Regions from separate parts of the Homo sapiens genome. Here regions 1, 2, 3, 4, 5 and 6 are each linked to region 7. The links are contacts of gene promoters, found by promoter capture Hi-C in blood cells and fetal thymus (Javierre and others, 2016). All regions are on one chromosome and are shown on one strand. Each heading gives the region's core, a stretch centred on a gene start or on the middle of the fragment in contact. The rest is flanking DNA. Distances are from core to core; before and after follow the strand shown. Region 1 overlaps ZNF225 (zinc finger protein 225). Region 2 holds the start of ZNF224 (zinc finger protein 224). Region 3 overlaps ZNF234 (zinc finger protein 234). Region 4 has its middle 22 kb from the start of ZNF227. Region 5 overlaps ZNF224 (zinc finger protein 224). Region 6 holds the start of ZNF284 (zinc finger protein 284). Region 7 holds the start of ZNF229 (zinc finger protein 229).

The links. Contacts are between HindIII fragments. The CHiCAGO score rates a contact against its expected background, and 5 or more counts as called.
Region 1: a fragment that was not itself captured here is called in contact with the fragment with the promoter of ZNF229 in region 7 in 3 of 17 cell types (naive B cells, neutrophils and total CD8 T cells); the score reaches 5.8 in naive B cells.
Region 2: a contact is called between the fragment with the promoter of ZNF224 here and the fragment with the promoter of ZNF229 in region 7, in 11 of 17 cell types (erythroblasts, naive B cells, fetal thymus and 8 more). The highest score is 10.6, in erythroblasts.
Region 3: a contact is called between a fragment that was not itself captured here and the fragment with the promoter of ZNF229 in region 7, in 3 of 17 cell types (erythroblasts, total B cells and M2 macrophages). The highest score is 7.5, in erythroblasts.
Region 4: a fragment that was not itself captured here is called in contact with the fragment with the promoter of ZNF229 in region 7 in 1 of 17 cell types (M2 macrophages); the score reaches 5.1 in M2 macrophages.
Region 5: a fragment that was not itself captured here is called in contact with the fragment with the promoter of ZNF229 in region 7 in 4 of 17 cell types (total B cells, fetal thymus, naive B cells and 1 more); the score reaches 7.0 in total B cells.
Region 6: a contact is called between the fragment with the promoter of ZNF284 here and the fragment with the promoter of ZNF229 in region 7, in 5 of 17 cell types (naive B cells, erythroblasts, fetal thymus and 2 more). The highest score is 6.5, in naive B cells.

The regions. Positions count from the first base shown.
Region 1 is chr19:44,128,770-44,131,469 of GRCh38, forward strand. It overlaps ZNF225 (zinc finger protein 225), which reads left to right. Exons shown (of 5, transcript NM_013362.4): 5 at 2,081-2,700. Among named protein-coding and RNA genes, the nearest start is that of ZNF234, 11 kb to the right of the region's middle. The HindIII fragment of the contact is 1,288 bases long and covers 752-2,039 here.
Region 2 is chr19:44,092,973-44,095,672 of GRCh38, forward strand. It overlaps ZNF224 (zinc finger protein 224), which reads left to right and starts at 1,389. Exons shown (of 6, transcript NM_001321645.3): 1 at 1,389-1,558. RefSeq lists an enhancer at 1,199-1,308. The HindIII fragment of the contact is 10,144 bases long and covers 1-2,700 here.
Region 3 is chr19:44,147,690-44,150,430 of GRCh38, forward strand. It overlaps ZNF234 (zinc finger protein 234), which reads left to right. Exons shown (of 6, transcript NM_006630.3): 4 at 1,082-1,208; 5 at 2,724-2,741. Among named protein-coding and RNA genes, the nearest start is that of ZNF234, 7.5 kb to the left of the region's middle. The HindIII fragment of the contact is 1,281 bases long and covers 646-1,926 here.
Region 4 is chr19:44,188,729-44,191,428 of GRCh38, forward strand. It overlaps a transcript of ZNF226 not described here. Among named protein-coding and RNA genes, the nearest start is that of ZNF227, 22 kb to the right of the region's middle. The HindIII fragment of the contact is 4,753 bases long and covers 1-2,700 here.
Region 5 is chr19:44,109,110-44,111,809 of GRCh38, forward strand. It overlaps ZNF224 (zinc finger protein 224), which reads left to right. Exons shown (of 6, transcript NM_001321645.3): 6 at 1-717. All of the region lies in intron 1 of ZNF225-AS1 (ZNF225 and ZNF224 antisense RNA 1), which reads right to left. It also overlaps a transcript of ZNF225 not described here. Among named protein-coding and RNA genes, the nearest start is that of ZNF225-AS1, 2.7 kb to the right of the region's middle. The HindIII fragment of the contact is 181 bases long and covers 1,289-1,469 here.
Region 6 is chr19:44,070,888-44,073,591 of GRCh38, forward strand. ZNF284 (zinc finger protein 284) reads left to right here and starts at 1,272. Exons shown (of 5, transcript NM_001037813.4): 1 at 1,272-1,404. The HindIII fragment of the contact is 12,821 bases long and covers 1-2,704 here.
Region 7 is chr19:44,447,139-44,449,838 of GRCh38, forward strand. ZNF229 (zinc finger protein 229) reads right to left here and starts at 1,334. Exons shown (of 6, transcript NM_014518.4): 1 at 1,171-1,334; 2 at 375-462. The HindIII fragment of the contact is 11,359 bases long and covers 1-2,700 here.

The sequences.
Region 1 (2,700 bases), core at 146-2,645, 320 kb before region 7:
CTATTCTGGTTCTTTTTCCTAAATGCTTTTTAGAAGGTTTCAGATTTATTTTACAGCTCACTAAGAGTCTGTAGTGTTTATTTTGAAAATGGGTATAAAGGTCTGTTTCTTTACATCATATTTTTTCTGCTATCTGTTTTCAATGAGACAGTCCAATAACTTCACATGGAACCAATCAGGGCATGACCCCTTAGGCGTTCTTTTCATCCCAGGTGATCTTACCAACTTTCATTGTCTCATCAGGATCATCCCCCTTTGTGTATTTCTGTCAGGTCCAGCCTTTCAGATTCCCATCAAAACTGAAGGTTTCTGATCCTTTTCTATTTCAGGTAACCAAGTTATTGTTCATATCAGTACAGACAAATGAGATTATACATGTTCTGCAAAAATTCTTGTACAGGAATACTCTGAAAATGTAGACATAAATACTCCTAGGTATTTGATATTTAGTATTGTGAAGAGCTTAACCAATTGCAAAGTTTAAAGTGACAGCTCACAGAAGACTGCTGTCACTGCATACCAATGACAAATTCAGTGGTTTCCCCAAATTATTTTCATGTTCCATATTCTTAAAATTATGGGTTTTTATAGGGGAAAGATGCATATTACAATTAGGAGAAAAATCAAGTAAGACAGAGTCCAGGGAAGTATCAAATGAGAACTTTTTATTGTACTCTCCCCATGAAATCAGGATGCATTACATCCCCAAGATTAAGGTGTGACATTAGACGGGAGGAGAGCCTATCAGGGAAGCTTTCCTGAGCCCTGGTATTCAGAGTAATCGTTGTCTGTTAATTACATAGCCATTATTGGTTGATTTCTTTCCCGTATGAGTAGTCTCAGTCTCCTGGTTGACTGATTCCACATGACCTAAAGCCTCACCATAAATCACATTGTTGGTCTTTCTCACATAGTGAGCACCACATTCTCCTCATAGGTGTGGCCACCCATAATCCTAAATCGTAGAATTACACCGTCCAGAGTGACTTACTAGACCTACTACCTCCAGGCAAACAAAGACACTCTCCTAGGGCATGACATTTTAAGGACTGAGAGATTGCCTCTCAGATGCTGAGGACATCACCCAGGCCTCTTTGTGACTTAGGATAATTTCTTTACTTCATAAGGATATACAATACAAACTAAAATATACAAAGTTTTGACGATGTTATGGCTTCTCCTTAAAGTTCACATTTGATTCATATTTCACTGTTTACATAATTTATTAGTTACATAATTTACCATGCAAGGTTTTATTTCTACCAAGTATTTCACATATGACACGTGGTGTGGTTCTGAATTGGTCTCATGCAAACCAGAGTCCATAGTGTACCTGGAAAACACATTGGCTGGGCACAGTGGCTCAAGCCTGTAATCCCAGCACTTTGGGAGGCCAAAATGGGAGTATCACTTGTGGCCAGGAGTTCAAGACCAGCCTTGGCAACATAGCAAGACCTTGTCTCTACAAAAAGTGTAAAAATTAGCTAGTTATGGTGGTATGTGCCTGTAGTCCTAGCTACTCAGGAGGCAGAGGTGGGAGGATCACTTGAGCCCAGGAGGTCAAGGCTGCAGCGAGCCATGATTGTGTCCCTGCACTCCAGCCTGGGTGACAGAGGGAGACACTCTCTTTAAAAAAGGAAAATACAGGGCTGGGCGCAGTGGCTTACACCTGTAATCCCAGCACTTTGGGAGGCTGAGGAGGGCGGATCACGAGGTCAGGAGATCGAGACCATCCTGGCTAACACAGTGAAAACCCATCTGTACTAAGAATACAAAAAATTAGCTGGGCGTGGTGGCGGGCGCCTATAGTCCCAGCTACTGAGGAGGCTGAGGCGGGAGAATGGTGTGAACAACCCAGGAGGTGGAGCTTGCAGTGAGCGGAGATCACGCCACTGCACTCCAGCCTGGGGGACAGAGCGAGACTCCATCTCAAAAAAAAAAAAAAAAAAAAAAAAGGAAAATACAATCTGAACATTCCCTATATTTATTAAAATTTCAGGCTATGTCCTAAGTATGAAATCTTGATAACACTGAATAAAAGCTTTACTTGCCCACATCTCTTAATTCTGTGTCATTATAGGAGGCAAGATCCAAATGGAGATGGAGACTGTTTCAGAATCAGGAACACATGAAGGCTTGTTCAGTCATCAAACCTGGGAACAAATTTCAAGTGACTTAACCAGGTTTCAAGACTCCATGGTAAACAGCTTTCAGTTCTCCAAACAAGATGATATGCCCTGCCAGGTTGATGCAGGACTATCTATAATTCACGTAAGACAGAAACCTTCTGAGGGTAGGACGTGTAAAAAGTCCTTTAGTGATGTCTCCGTCCTTGATCTTCATCAACAACTACAGTCAAGAGAGAAGTCTCATACATGTGATGAATGTGGAAAGAGTTTCTGTTATAGCTCAGCTCTTCGTATTCATCAGAGAGTTCACATGGGGGAGAAACTCTATAATTGTGATGTGTGTGGTAAGGAATTCAATCAGAGCTCACATCTGCAAATTCATCAGAGAATCCACACTGGAGAGAAACCATTCAAATGTGAGCAGTGTGGGAAAGGCTTTAGTCGTAGATCAGGACTTTATGTTCATCGTAAATTACACACAGGAGTGAAACCTCATATTTGTGAGAAATGTGGGAAGGCCTTCATTCATGATTCCCAGCTTCAGGAACATCAAAGAATCCATACTGGGGAG
Region 2 (2,700 bases), core at 139-2,638, 350 kb before region 7:
CACTCCAGCCTGGGCATCAAGAGGGAAACCCCACCTCAAAACAAAACAAGACAAAGCAAACAAAAAAAACAAATCGTAGTAGAAACATAAAATATTATGAAGTACTGGTACATGCTGTGATGTGGATGAACTTTAAAAGCAGTATGCTGGCAGGGCGCGGTGGCTCACGCCTGTAATCCCAGCACTTTGGGAGGCCGAGGCGGGAGGATCACGAGGTCAAGAGATCGAGACCATCCTGGCTAACACGGTGAAACCCCGTCTCTACTAAAAATACAGAAAAATTAGCCAGGCGTGGTGGCACGCGCCTGTAGTCCCAGCTACTCGGGAGGCTGAGACAGGAGAATCGCTTGAACCCGGGAGGCGGAGGTTGCAGTGAGCTAAGATCGTGCCACTGCACTCCAGCCTGGCACTTTTTTTGAGATTCCGTCTCAAAAAAAAAAAAAAGAAGCAGGATGCTAAGTGAAAGGTGTCAGAAACAAAAGGTTCCATAATGTATAATTCCATTTATATGAAATGTCCACAATAGGTAATTCAATAGGACAGAGATTAGTGTTAGACAGTGACTGCTTAGTGGGTATGGGGTTTTTGGGGTGATGAAAATGTTTCCTAACTTTTTATTTGTACTACATATATCCTAAAATGGTGAATTTCACGTTTTGTGCATTACACCTCAATAGAGATGTTTTAAATAATAAAATACATTAAAATGTTTTGCATAGATAAAACAATAAAAAAAAACGTTTTTGTTGAGAAAATATTTGCGAGATAAAATGTTAATATCATGAATATAAGAACAGTGCTTGAAAAGTGAGGGATAAAACCAAAAACTCAATAAGAAAGTGGGCAAAACATCTGGACAATTTACAAAAAATGTAATAATGACACCTGAAAATATGCAAGAATATGCCATCTTTACAAGAGTTATAAATTAAAACTACATGCCATTTCTTACCACTGGCAAAACTTATTTGAAGAGTGTATCATCTCGCTTGTTCCCTTTCCAGTAACACTCCTGTCCTCACTAGAGGGGTTTAGACTTCAGGAATTCCTTTCTATACGGTATTTTCTCTTAGGCACCCAGGGAGAGGGAAGGACGACTCTCAGGGTAGAAGTCCACATTTCCCAACAGGCGCTCGGGGGTACGAGATTCGTTCCCCGTGGGAAGAGTGGTCAAGGGCTTCCCAGTAGTCGTCAACACTTCCCTTTGAGTGTAATGCTGCAGGAGTACAGTCCAGACCCTCAGTGGAATCGCGGTCGGTTTAGCTCCGGCAGTTGGGTCCCAGGGAATTCTGGGAAGTGTAGTCCAGACGCTCAGTGGAGTCGCGGTCAGTTTGGCTCCGGCTGGCGGGTCCCGGGGAATTCTGGGAAGTGGAGTCCAAACATTCGGTGGAGTCGCGGACACTTCCGCTCGGGGACTGAGGTTGCTGCAGTTTTTCCGCGATAGTTTGGGGCAGTTCCGCGCGTTGCAGGCCCTTCTGAATTTCCTGGACCTACGCATTGGATCCTCAAAGAACTGGTGATCGAATTAGGGGAAAAGGGGCCTCGTCGGAGAGTAGAGGTTTGGAGGGGCAAGGGCCGCTGTTTGCGTTCTCGTCCGTGGCACCTTCTTGGGCTTGGGTCTGTCCTCGCTTCCCGGGGGCATTGGTACTTGGTTGGGTCGCGTCTCACCTGGTTTCAGGGTTTCCGGGGCTCTGAGCTCGCCCACTCCGCCCCCTGCACCCCACGCGCGTGGCCACTTCTTCTCGATATAACGTTGGGGTGTTAATCTCCTTGGGTTTCCCGTTACTGTTCTTTAAAATGGGGACTTTAGGGCCATCCTAATGGAATCGTTTTGGGAACTGGAAGAGGTAACACAAATGAGAGCCTTAAAGCAGTCCCTGTCACTTGGTGACTGGTGGTCTCTTGTTAATTTCCCACGAAGGACCGGGTGGGGTCAGAGCTCCAGCTGCAGGGGCCTCGGCCCTTCTCCCTGATCCCTGCAGGACGCTGGATGATCCCGGAAGCCTTCTGACCTCTTTTTAGGAGAGCGAGGGTTGCGTCCACTTTCATGAAGGGAAAGGAGCATTTAACTTTTATGGGGGACGGCGACGCGGTCAAGGTGTTTCACAGCTTTCTCGTTCCCCAACCCGACCTTTCCAGAAGAGCTGCAGGGAGGGACTTCTTGGCTTCTGAGGGCAAAGCTCTACGTGAGTGGTCCTTGGCTCTTTGACCGAGATGCTCACCCCAACCGAGAGTGTATAGGTTGTGTCCTCGGGCATGGGGGTCGATAATAATTAAGTCTTAATTAGTAACTTCATTCTAAGGGCTTTATACAAATAAATTTACGCCACACCGTGGCTCTGTGGAGAAGTATTGCTTTTTTCTATTTTAAAAACGAAAGTGAGACACAGAGCGCATAGGCACCCGACTAGTGAGAGGTGGAGCTGGGGTTGGAACCTAAGCAGTCTGGGTCAGAGCCTGATTTGATCTTCTCTTGGGATACGTTGTCACTGAGGCAGAGGAACTAGTTGGACTTAGGTGGGGAAAGCAAGACTTAGGGGCTTGAAATTTTCTGAGTTTCTAAAAATGTTGTCAACTATTTTGTTTCAATCATTACAAATATTTTGTATTCTTATAGAACCATGTCATTGTACAGCATTCTATTTTTCTTTATTAAGAACAAAATGGGCCTGGCGCGGTGGCTTACGCCTGTAATCCCAG
Region 3 (2,741 bases), core at 36-2,535, 300 kb before region 7:
TAAAAATACAAAATTAGCTGAGCATGGTGGCGCATGCCTATAATCCCAGCTACTCGGGAGGCTGAGGCAGGAGAATAATTTGAACCCAGGAGGCAGAGGTTGCAGTGAGCCAAGATTGTGCCATTGCACTCCAGCCTGGGCAACAAGAGTGAAGCTCTGTCTCAAAAAAAAGAAAAAAAAAAGGAAAGAAAGTAAGATCTACATGAAATGATGTTCTTTGCTGGATTGGTTATAATGAAAACAATATTGAAAATTAAATATTCATTAATTAGAACAGGTAGATGCAGATTTCAGTTCCCTCGAATAATATACAGTCATGAAATGAGGTGAAATAGATGATGATGGTAATAATAATAGATAATAGCTAATGTTTCTTAGGTACTTAGTCTGCGCCATACACTATTCCAAATGCTATATGTAGTTTCTTTTTCAACGTTTGAAAGAACTCTGTCATGTAAGAACTATCATACCAAGATGAAACTAGGTGAACTTATCCAAGATCACACAACTTTGAAGGGTACCCTTGTGTGCACTGAGGCATGATGGCTCCAGATCATGACACTAAATGCTGCAGGTAATGCTGGTGCTGTGTGCCCTGGGTGTACAGAAGGAAAACTACATAGCAGTTTTAGATATGTTACCAAAAGCTTGTTAGTTTGGCAGACTTTAATGAAAAGGGATAGCATCCAGCGTTCCTATGTGAGAGAGGAGGAAGGTGGGTGTTATCATGTATGTTGGTTCTGACTTGCTAAATGTTTCTGGGGCAATTGGTAATATTTACCGAAAGGTGAAACCCGTGTGGCTCAGGATGCGTCATTTAGAGTTCTAGATGGTTACTTACAAATAGACTCAGTGAAGCCACAAAGGAATTGAAGGCTATTGTTACTGATGTACTTTTACTGACACTAAGGAAAATCAAAGTGTGGCATTGGTAAGATGGAAGGAGAAGGGCTGAGAAATCTACACATTAAGTCTCTGAAAATCTGGACCAGCTCCCCCTACATACTCTCCACTTTCTCAGTGCTGTTTCTTTTCAAGAGTTTGTTAAAAAGGCTGAAGTAAGGTGTGTTTGATGTTATAGGAGGGACTGACCTTCAAGGATGTGGCTGTGGTCTTCACTGAGGAGGAGCTGGGGCTGCTGGACCCTGTCCAGAGGAATCTGTACCAAGATGTGATGCTGGAGAACTTCAGGAACCTGCTGTCAGTGGGTGAGGACATGAGCTTTCTAACACTCAATGTCAGTCTCTTGGAGTGATTTTGTGTCTTCAGGGGTTCAACACTTTGGAGGTCTTGAATTAGTCGCCTACATTTGTAGACCTGACTTTCCTATCAGTAGTTTTTAGTGAAATAAAATGAGATAGAAATATCAGAGTTCACTAAAATTAATGGAATACATAGCAAATAAAACTGGTAAATTGCATGAGTGGTGTGAGAACTTGTGGGAGGAGATTTAATGAAAATAAACGGGGGCCAGGCACAGTGGCTCACGCCTGCAATCCCAGCACCTTGGGAGGCTGAGGCAGGTGGATCACCTGAGGTCGGGAGTTCGAGACCAGCCTGGCCAACATGATGAAACTCTATCTCTACCAAAAAATAAAAAATACAAAAATTAACCAGGTGTGGTGGTGCATGCCTCTTATCCCACCTACTTGGGAGGCTGAGGCATGAGAATCGCTTGAATCCAGGAGGCAGAGGTTGTAGTGAGCCTAGATCACGCCACTGCACTCCAGCCTGGGTGACAGAGTGAGACTGTCTCAAAAAAAAAAGACATTGGTTAGAAATGTAATTTTAGTAATGCACCAAGATGTAACAGTTTTTCTGTTGTTTGAGATAACACCTGGAGTTTTTTGTTTTATTTTTAAGAAGATTAATGAGTGCAGACAGAAATGTGAGGTTAGAGTGAAGGTTTAATAAGCAAAAGAAGAAAGCTTTTTGCCAGCAGAGAGGGGGACCCAAATGGAATTCCCCCTATGAGGCAGGGGTTTGGGGTTTTTATGGACTGGGAAGGGGAAGGAATGTGCTTAGTTTGTGGGCTATTTTGGAGAAAGTGTGACTTAGCTTGGCCCGGAACCTTGGCCCAGGACCAATCAGGTTGAAGTAAAGATATATAGAGACCGGACTTACAGTTTGAAAAAAAGAAAGTAGAGTGCCCACTGGAACCCACTGGAGCCCACTGTACCTATGCCCACAAAAGGAGAAGAAACCTTTTCCTGGGAGCCCGCTGACTATACAGAGGACAAAGGCATTCTTATGCCAGGCCTTGCTCCTTTATCTGAGCGAGCTGGAGGTATGTACAAGCTTTTATCCAAATGGGCTGGAGGTTTTTCTATCTGTGCAGCCGTGGGCATGTCTCCAGGCACAACACCCTGTGGTAGTTCCCTTATTGGTGCCTGCAGCTTAAATTTTTTTTCCAGGCTGCTTTTTATGTTATATAAAAATAAGACACTAACCCATGGGTCAGGGGCTCTCCAAAGACCCTTCCCTTGCTGTCTACCTAAGGCAAGCGAACTAACTCCTTTCAGAAATAGGTTTTTATAGCACATATTTATGTCTATGTGTCTGGATCTTGAAATACTGATATTTCTTCATTAGGTTCTTCTAAAAGTGTTTGAAAACACTACTTTTGATTGATTGATCAGTATACAGTAGTAATTCAAATTGCCAGTAAGTTCAGTTGTACCTTTAGTGTGTTTGTTTTAAATATGTGACTTTGCGTGTTCTAGGGCATCACCCCTTCAAAC
Region 4 (2,700 bases), core at 108-2,607, 260 kb before region 7:
TGACAGTTTTTGTCTTAAGTCTATTTTGTCTGATATAAATGTCAATCTAAATAGAAGAGACAGAGTCTCTCTAAAATAAAATTACATTTATTCAGGAATGAGCATTTCAATGGGAATACAGTGGGTATATTCAGGGAGGTAAATGAAGACAAGAGTTTTATAAGGAAAAATGAAAAGGGCCACATAAGTTGTTTTGAAACAATTTTTCTTGACCACAGGGTTCAGTAACAACGGTGGTATCAGTCCAAGGTTGGACAGCCAGTTGCTGGGTAGATGTCTTCATGGAAGTAGTTTTGTTTGTGTAAGGTCATGACATTTGAGCAACAATGGAGGTTTGGAGGGAGTGGCTCTTAGGCTAGGTCTACCTGGAGTCCGTTGTTAAGTTCAATTTTGTTTGTTCTGTAGGTGTGGGCTATTATTTCAAAGCTGTAGGCCAGCATTATTGTGTTAGGAGTTGTACTTCCACAGAAATTTGACAGGCAACAGGTACAAAGTTTAAAAAGAAAGATACGAAGTAAAATTTATACTAATATGATCATCCCAGTTTGCATAATGGTTTCGAGCCATGAACCTGGGCTTAAAGGCAAGCAACTGAATCAATCAAATGATCATTGGGAATTAGGTGAGACCTAATGTAACTATGTGCGTGTTTTCTTATTTTGTGTATTTGGGTCTCAACTTCCCCAGAGGAATTTATCCAGGTATGCATGTAGTCCTAGCAATAGCATAGACACTACCTTATTTAACCAGTAGATAATATAGAAAAATTTTGTCATCTGATATCTCATGACTGGGTTGAATTAAAAGCATAGAGTGAGTGACAGTTGTATTAGGAATATTTTTAAAGTTGGACTAAAGGATTCTTTGGTCATGTAAAGATCTACAGTTGGCATAACAGATCTAACATTTTGTCAAGTTGTCCACATAAGCTACTAATTGTAAAATTTTAACTACACCATTATCCTGCCCAGTGAAAAAGTTAAGCATAGGCAAGGACAAACTAAGAGGGGCAACAGTCTCATTATGATAAAGATTGTTCTGGCATCTTGAGAAAGCTGTCCACAGCATAAAGACATCAACTTCTCATCCTGGTTTGTAGTTTGAATGTCTCTCGTTATAGCATCGGGTGGTTTGGTGAACTTTCTGCATGACCCACAAATCAGGCATGAGGCTTGTCTCTTAAAATTTACATCAAGTTTTCTAGCTTCAGCTTACAGGGCTTTAGGAAAGAGTAGTTCCCATTCTTAGTAATAACATGGGAGAAAATTAGATTAGGGAACCTAGAATAACTTAGGATCCAGTCTGGTCTACAGTAGATAATAAAAACTCAAAGACAATGCACAGAACTACAATCTAATAACAGATGTATTATAGTCCTTTTCTAGAAACATAATTTTGTCTCTATATAGTTATCCTAATTTCTACCAAAGATAATTACAGTAAGACTGATTTGTTTGTAAATAAGTTTAGTTTTATTATTATTTTAGGTTCTTGTATTATTTTATTAGTTTTATTATTTTAGTTTTTTAAAGTTTATTTATTACTTAATAATTTACATAAGAGCAGCAAGAGTAGTAAATTGAGCACAAAAGAATCTCAGATTTTATTTTATTTTATTTTTTTGAGGCGGAGTCTCGCTGTGTCGCCCAGGCTGGAGTACAGTGGCGCGATCTCGGCTCACTGCAAGCTCCGCCTCCCGGGTTCCTGCCATTCTCCTACCTCAGCCTCCCGAGTAGCTGGGACTACAGGCGCCCGCCACCACGCCTGGCTAATTTTCTTTGTATTTTTAGTAGAGATGGGGTTTCACCATGTTGGCCAGGATGGTCTTGATCTCCTGACCTCTTGATCCGCCCGCCTCGGCCTCCCAAAGTGCTGGGATTACAGGTGTGAGCCACCGTGCCTGGCCAAGAATCTCAGATTTTAAACCTCCTTGAGTCTAGAAAGCCAAACAAAGGCAGACTTCAGACTTTGTTTGCAGTACCAATAAAAATTTAAATATGGCATTCCAGTTTTAATTGGTAATACAACCAATGTTTTTAACTGTATCATGTTACAAGGAGGTACAGATTCATACTGAATGTATGCAAATAATTATATTGTCATTTAAGAAACACTAGCAAATCACTTCCAAATTTTGAAGGGATCAAATAGAAAAAAATAAATATTTCCACCTTTGTTCACAGAAGTATATTTTACCAAATTGTTGTAAACTATAGATAGCTTAAGAGAAAATGTTTCCTTAAACTTGGAAGACAAAACATTTCAGTAAAAAACCAACAATGTTTAAATTAAAAGTTATAAAAACATTATCAGTTATTCAATTTCATGTAATTAGTTTTTGTTATGCTTGATCTTGATTAGCAGTTTCACAAATTCATCAGTTTCTTCACTGCAGTTGTGAAAAGTTTTATTTAGTTCATTAATCTTGAAGTTATTAGAAACTTGTATTTAAGAGTACTTATTAGAGTCTTTTCCATGAATCTGATTGCAGATACCTTTAGAGAAAAATCAAAACTATGGATGTCAAAGACTTAGAATAACCATCATTAAAAATCTGATGGGAGTTCAGCAGTTGAGAAGGAAATTCAATTATTTCTATTGTATTTAGCATTTTAAGGTAACAACCAGAATCGTGGTTGATAGCATTACATCAGGACCATCAGACCTTTTTAAATTTCACATAATATTTAATATACATCA
Region 5 (2,700 bases), core at 129-2,628, 340 kb before region 7:
GAAAAGGTTTGGTTAATTTTGCAATAACAGACCACTGCATATTTCACAATTAAGTGTTTTCAACAGTATTAAGGCAAGATTTACAGTAACACTTTTAAAGTGCCAGATGTACATTGACAGAAATTTTCTTAGTCAATCCTAGATTGATCATGATTTGTGATTTCTATGCAGGCCTTGGTATGATTGCCTTTTAATTGCTGTACAATTTCTTTTTTTTTTTTAACTTCTCTGGTATAAAATATTCTAAATTTGAATGACAGCTTTTGTCAACCTTCTTATCCAATATTCTTCCACCAACGCTATGAAACAGGAAGAGAAAATGGAGTTTGGTAATTTCATCAAATATATTCATTATTGGGGGCAGGAGTAACATTTAAATCCTCCTCTTTATTGCTGGCAGTAAAAATATGTCTTTTGGAGAGCAGAACATGCCAGAATGTATAAGGTGCAACTGTTTGATATGAAAACCATAGGATAGGAAACTATGCCTATGACACTAAAACTCCAAAAAGTAGAAGACCACATTGATGATGTCACTGCATTTTAAAATGGAAAGAACAAGTGTTCAAGAACAGGAATTTGTGTGAATTGCATTTATTCCTATAATAATATGAACTCAATGAGATGATGACATAGACACAATAACAAAAGGAGAAAAACAATGTGGCTTTTTTTAGCCTTCATAACCTAATCAAATAAATATCTTTGTGTGTTTTATGTTCTTTTGAGTGTTTACATACTGTGTAAATGAATATTTTTACTGATCTTTGCTGGCAATGAGTGTTTGCAGGCATTTTTCCATTTTATACTTCCATGCATTTTTAATTTTTTTATGCCACGATCTTTTAAACAACCAGCTCTTGTGTGAATTAAGAGTGCGAACTCATTCATTACCATGGTGGGGACACCAATGTTTATGAAGGATCTGCTTCCATGACCAAGCACCTTCCAATAGTCCCGACCTCCAACACTGGAGGTCATACTTCAACATGAGATTTGGAGGGGATACATATTCAAACTATTGTCAGATGTTAATTCATCAGGTATACACCATAGTAATATCTTAAGTGTGTTAAGTTAAAGTGATATATTTTCTAAGGTATAGAACAAATAGGGCTTATCACCCCCCTACAAGCAAAGAAAATGTCACAATGCTTAGTGTGCCATTTTTGATATTGGATGCAACTTATTGTTTCGATTGTGCTACTCTGACTTTTATGAGTGACCCAAAAACTTTGACTTGTCCCAGACAAGAGAAGTTTGTGTAATATGTCCCAGCTTCCACGTAAGCTTCTCTGCCACTAAAACCCTGTGACCCCGGGGGTCCAAAAGTGTTTGAAATGTCCGTGGCAGATAGTATGTTTGAAGCCTATGGTTGGCCCTAATTGGAGAATCAAAATTCAGATGCTTAGTATTTTGAAGCAAATTTCTGCCATCCTCTGCATATACTTACTCTCCTCTGGAGAAGAAGCTTTTCATTTTGCTAGGGTGTTTTGTTTTGTTTTGTTTTTGTTTTTGTTTTTTGAGACGAGTCTTGCTCTGTGGCCCAAGCTAGAGTGCAGTGGTGCAATCTTGGCTCACTGCAACCTCTGCCTCCCGGTTTCAAGCGATTCTCCTGCCTCAGCCTCCCGAGTAGCTAGGATTGCAGGTGCCCCGCCACCGCACCCGGCTGATTTTTGTATTTTTAGTAGAGACGGGGTTTCACCATCTTGGCCAGGCTGGCCTCAAACTCCTGACCTCGTGATCCACCCGCCTTGGCCTCCCAAAGTGCTGGGATTACAGGTGTGAGCCACCACGCCCGGCCACTAGGGGTCTTAAAACGGACAGAACACTTGACCACAGACCACCAAATTAACATGTGACTTATGCTTTCCATCATGAATCGGGTGTTGACCCCTGCACCTTTTTAAGTTACATGTGCAGATTAGTATTCCATTTGGAAGTGGTATATATGAGATTGTGTTTGTGCAGGCTCTGAAGCCACAGGTAAGTGCACCTAATATTCATCTCCCTACTCTTGCTGTATTCAGAATGAGTGAATATAAAGAGAAGTCATCTGAAATTATTGTGTCTCAGCAGCAGAAAGAAGTGGAATACACGGTTGGACGCGGTGGCTCACGCCTGTGATCCCAGCATTTTGGGAGGCCGAGGCGGGTGAATCACCTGAGGTCGGGAGTTTGAGACCAGCCTGACCAGCATGGAGAAACCCCCTCTCTACTAAAAATACAAAATTAGCCGGGCGTGGTGGCACATGCTTGTAATCCCAGCTACGCTGGAGGCTGAGGCAGGAGAATCGCTTGAACGCGGGAGGCGAAACTCCCTCTCAAAACAAAAAACAAACAAAAAACAACCAAAACTGAAAGCTGGTAATGAAACAAATACGTATACACGAACATTTGTAGCAACACTGTTCACTACAGCCAAAAGGTGAAAAGAAGCCAAATGTGCGTCAATGTATGAATGGAGAAACAAATTGTAGTATAAACATAAAATATTCATCTATGAAAAGGAATGAAGTACTGATACGTGGTATGATGTGAATAACATTAAAAATATTATGCTAAGCAAAGGGAGTTAGAAACAAAATGTTCCATTCATTTTTATGATTTGTCCAAAATAGGTAATAGAAAAGAGAGAAAGATTCATGTTTCCCCAGGAATGGGATTATGGACAACAGTAGTGATTGCTTAGTGGGCATGG
Region 6 (2,704 bases), core at 22-2,521, 380 kb before region 7:
TTTGGGGGCCCAAGATATTTTCCTTTCACAATACTAAGCAGTTTAATTTCTCTTAAATGTGGCATTTCCACGTCTAAAGAATATTAATATGAAAACTTTAAAAGTGGGAAGATAGCTTTTCCAGGAGGGCAATTGGCCCTCCATATTGGCCCTTGACAGGGCAGGAGCATCGCCATCTTGGACAAACACTGCCATTTTAAAGTTCGCGTTGATCAAAAACTGCCTAAATCCAAAGGGCATCAGCCTAATGGCTAAGGTCAGCATGACCATAAACCACAAATGACATCTCCAATCAGAAACATTCCAACCATAAGATAAACCCCTCCCTGACCAGAGACATGCCAGCACCGAGATAACCTCCCTTCCATTGGAGAGATGTCAGTCCCAAGATAACTTCCCCTCCAACCAGAGATATTCCAACCCCACAACAGACTTCTCCCCAATACAGAAACATTCTAAGCCTGTGGTAAGCTCTCTCTCCCTAAAGCCAATACATACTCTTAGTCCGTAAGAGAGAGCGCTCCTGACTGCAATCGGCCAGAAGGCCCTCTCGGTTTATTCTCCAAAACGAACCTGTCTTTGACTGTTGAGCCGCTTTTCGTGTTTTTTTTTTTTTTCTCTTTAACTCTTACAGCCCTCTTAAACACTTAAACTGTGGTTGTTTTTCTTGCCAAACCAGTGGTACAACAGTGTCTGGTTGTACCAGGGGCTGGTGCCCCACTCAATGCCTCTCCCAAACCATTTTTCCTGGCCCATTATTTAAGCTCTTAGATTTAGCCTCATACTATTAGCGTCTAGTATATTAGCCTTTCAGCCATCTCCTGACCGCTCCACAGTCACTCCCCGCTAACTCCTTGAAGATTGTATCTCCTTGCTTTGTTCTCTTTCAGTAACACTCCTGTCATCATGGGAGGCGTGTAGACTTCAGGAATTCCTGTCTATTCAATATTTTCTCTCGAGGACGCAGGGAGAGGGAAGGACCACTCTCAGGGCCACAGTCCATATTCCAAACCAGGCGCTTGGGTCTATGGGATTCATTCCTCGTGGGCATTGCAGGAAGTGTAGTCAAAGAGCACCGCGGAGTCCCACGCTTCCCGCCGGAAGGTGATACTATAGAACGTCTCCTTTGAGATTCAAGGAAGTGTAGCGCAGGAGATCTGTTGAATGACGAGCAAGTAGGCTCAGGACGGCGTATCCGGGGAATTCTGGGAAATGTAGTTCACACGCTGCGCGGGGTAGGGGCACTTCCGCTCCCGGGGGGCGAGGTTGCTGCAGTGCATTCGGTGGTAGTTTGGTGTCAGTCCTGTGTCTTGTCGGTCCTTCTAAACGTGTCCCCTTACGATGCTGGCTCGCAACCACCTGGAAGTTGACTAAGGGGAGAAGGAGTCTCGTTGGAAAACGGAGGTTTGGAGGGACAACGGCCTCTCTTTTCGTTCTTGTCAGCGGAGCCTTCTTGGTCTTGGGGCTGTCCTCGCGTCCCCGGGCATGAGGCTGGGGGTTGGGACTTGGTCGGGACGCGTCTCGCCTGGTTTGAGGGTTTTTGGGGCTCTCAGCTCGCTCAGTCCGCCTCCCTCCATCCCACCTGTGAGGCTACTTTCTCACAATTTAGGGTTGGGATGTTATTAATCTCCCTGTACCTCCCACTGCTGTTCTTTAAAATGGGGACTTTAGGACCATCCTAATGAAATCGTTTTGGGAACTGGAAGAGGTAACACAAATGAAAGCCTTAAAGCAGCCCCTCCCTTAGTGACTGGTGGTCTCTTCTTAGTGTTTATTTCCCACGAAGCCTGTCAGGTCCCCGGGTGGGGTCAGAGCTCCATCTGCAGGGATCCCCGCCCTTGTCTCTGATTCCTGCAGGACGCTGGGTGATCCCGGACGCTTCTGACCTCTTTTTAGGAAGGCGAGGGTTGTTTCCATTTCCACGAAGGGAGAGGAACATTTAACTTTTATGCCGGACGGCAATGCGGTCAGGGTGTTTCACAGCTTTCTCCTTCCCCAGCCTGATTCTCAAAAAGAGCTGCAGGGAGGGACTTCTTGGCTACTGAGGGCAAAGTTCCACGAGAGTGGTCCTTGGCTTTTTTTCTTTTACAGAGATGCTCACCCCGACCAAGAGTGTAGGATGTGTCCTCAGGCATGGGTGTTGATAATAATTAAGCCTCAATTGGTAACTTTATCCCAAGAGCTTTATACAAGTAGTCACATTTTCGCCACACCGTGGCTCTGTGGAGAGGTACTACTTTTTTCAGTTTTAAAGATGAGTGAGATACAAAGGAGCAGGAGTTATCTGAGAATAGTCACCTAAGCAGTAAGAGGTGGAGCTGCGGTTGAAACCTGGGCGTTACAGGTCAGAGCCTTAGTTGATAATCTTTTGGATACATTCTCATTGAGGCAGAGGAACTAGCTGGAATCTAGTGGGGAAAGCAAGCTAGGACTTGATTGAAGGGAGCCTTGAGAGCAAGGCTTATGGGCTTGGACTGTTCTGGGAGTTTATCAACTATTTCATTCATTAGAACTATTTCATTTATTACAAATATTTCACTTGTTATGCAGCGGTATGATTGTGGAGCGTTCAGAAATTGGAGAAATACGAGTAGTACAAGTTTATAATTACCCATGAATCCAGCATGTAAAGATAGTAACTGTTAAACTTCGAGTGCATTTTTTTTTTTTTTTTGAGACAGAGTCTCACTGTGTTGCCCAGGCT
Region 7 (2,700 bases), core at 84-2,583:
TACATTCATTTATTCAAATATTTATTGGCAAGCCTGGCACTGTCCTAGACACCATGGATAAATAATACCTGGCATATAGTAAGCACTCAGTTAATATACACCATCACAGTTACTCTAATTATTTCTACCCTGCGTTTCTTCAGCATGGCGCTGAAACAGTGTAAGCCTTTACTGACCCAGTGACACACTACTAGGAGCCAAGAAGAGAATACACTAAATAAAGACACTGGGAAATTCCTCAAACCTCCCCCATTTCTAGGGGAAGGCAGGTGTGGCTAAGGGGTCTGAATGAACATTTGTGATATCAATGGGATGAAGAATGAGGTCACCAAGAGACCTGGCATTGCCACAAAAGAGAACCAAAGTTCACTCACCTGGAGCTCTAGTGTCAAGAGATGTGGGGTTATTTCTCCTTCTTTTATACAATTATCTCCGAGAAACGAACAATTCCAAGAAGGAAGCCTGTGAAAGAAAAATGAACAGCAGGATAACATGATTTAATCCCAATTCCCACCACGCCACAGGGGGAAATCTCTCAGTGCCAGCTGGATGTAATCTACCCCTTCCTGTAATCTACCCTCGCTACTTGCTTCAGGAGCCGAGGAAAAGAACCTCTCTTCCTACAGGACTCAGAGTACAAGGGACACGCCATTCCTGATGCCCAAAGAAACCGTCTACAAGCCTACTTTCACTGCCCCTTTCAGGAGACAAGGAGAATCAAGACAAAATCTCAAGATTTTAATCCAGAGCTGACTGTCACATGCTGTGGGACACTTACAAGTGAAATTCTGCCTGTGTGTGCTTAGGCGGCTACAAAAAGCAGAGCCAGCAACGATACAGCAAACCAACTCCTAGGACTTGCACAGCGCTTAATACATTTCAAAGGATAAAATTAGAACACAGGGAATCAACTTCCTGTTTACAGAAATGACTTCGCAGAAAACTCTGAAATTACTCCACAAGTGGGTGGGCGGCTACCCTGAGAAAATTCATGTCATCGATCCGCAACTGACACAGTGGAGTCTCCCGCACTGCAGATCTCATCTCAAAGCCAGAGCTGGCCTCAAACTGCTTTTCCAAGCCTGGACTGCGAGGGCTGCCGACCCGGGCCCACCCCGCACAGGCGCTCAGAATGTTCGATACGTGCGCCTCCTTACACCCCTGCCTCACCAGGCCGAGCTCATGGAAATCCGTGGGCTTCGACCCTCCGCCGCACGTTGTCCCTTCACACTGGTCCTATAGAGCCGATCCTAATTCCCATGGCCTGACAGTACAACCGCATGGAGATGCACGTCTCTAAGACGCCTCACCACTGCCTAAGAAGCAATCAAGGTGACGCGCCCACCGGAAACGGAAGTAGTCGACTCGAGGTGTGGGACTACCTTTCCCAGAACCCTCCGCAGCGCAGTCCGATCCTAGGGGCGATGGTGTCGTAAATGCGCGTCCACCTCGAGTCACGCCCACTGCGAGGCGGCGGGAGGCGGCATGCAAGGTGTTTCTGAGTTGAAAAGAATGTCTTTACTCAGTACTAACATATTCGCGTTGTAGCAAACCTGACTATATTCTCAAACAAGCCCATCATCCCATCACCAGGGATATAAAGCATTATTGATTTTCTGGTGTAAAAGCCAACTAAATATTTATTTCAAAAGTAGTTCATATTACATGTAAAGAATGGTTTAAAAAAAATTCTTACTTAATCCCTGGTTTATGTGAGTAAATATGAATTCTTAAGAATCCCATTTCCCAAATGGCATCATAATATTTTGTAATCATTTCTTGCCACAGGTCATATATCGTGGATAGTTCTGTATGTCACAAAAGACGTAGAGATACATAGAGATAATAAAAAAACACAAATTATTTGCAATACTTGCCTAGCATTCTTTAGTTTTTAGGGAAGTTACCCCTTTGTCCTGCATTGAACTTACACTTCTAATTTTATGATATCAAAACTACACACAATCACTTTCTTTAATATTTTCCCAATTTGATGGACTAAATATCCTGTCTTATTTTCCCAATTTGACAGAGTAAATATGCTTATTACCGATTGCATTTCATTGTCATCTTTTATTGTCATACACTCTCTGTGTATGAATGATATCGCTTCTAAGTGATGAATTGCTCCCCCAGTTTCAACATTTATAAAGTAGTTTAGAAAAAAAAAAAAACAAAAAACTTCATCTGACAAGGTATATCAGTCTTTTCATTTGTGGCTTCTTTTTTTTCTCCAGTATGACCAAAAAGACATTCCTTAGCCTGATTCCCAATAAGTGCATATCTATATTCATTTCAGGCTCTTTCATTTTTCTTTTGAATCACCGCGTGATTCATTTAAGTGTATGATATGAAAGGAAGATGGAGTTTCCTGTTTCACCAAAGGATTGTCTACTTTTCTTAACAAAATTTACATAAATATTAATTCTTTCCTTTCTGATTTAAACGGCATCCTAATCACTTACTACATTACTATATATATAATGAAATATTTTCTGGGATACAAGTGTGTTCTGAAGATAGAGATTGCTTTTTCTGTGCCATGATGAAAGGTTTCAGTTACAGTGATAACTCATTTCCTTATCTCTCCCTCCTTGTTGTGTTTCAAAAATTTCATCCTAGAAGTTCTAGAACTCTCTCTTATAAACAGATTATCGAATTGTTTTGATAAATTCTAAAAAATTGCCAATTGACTCCAAA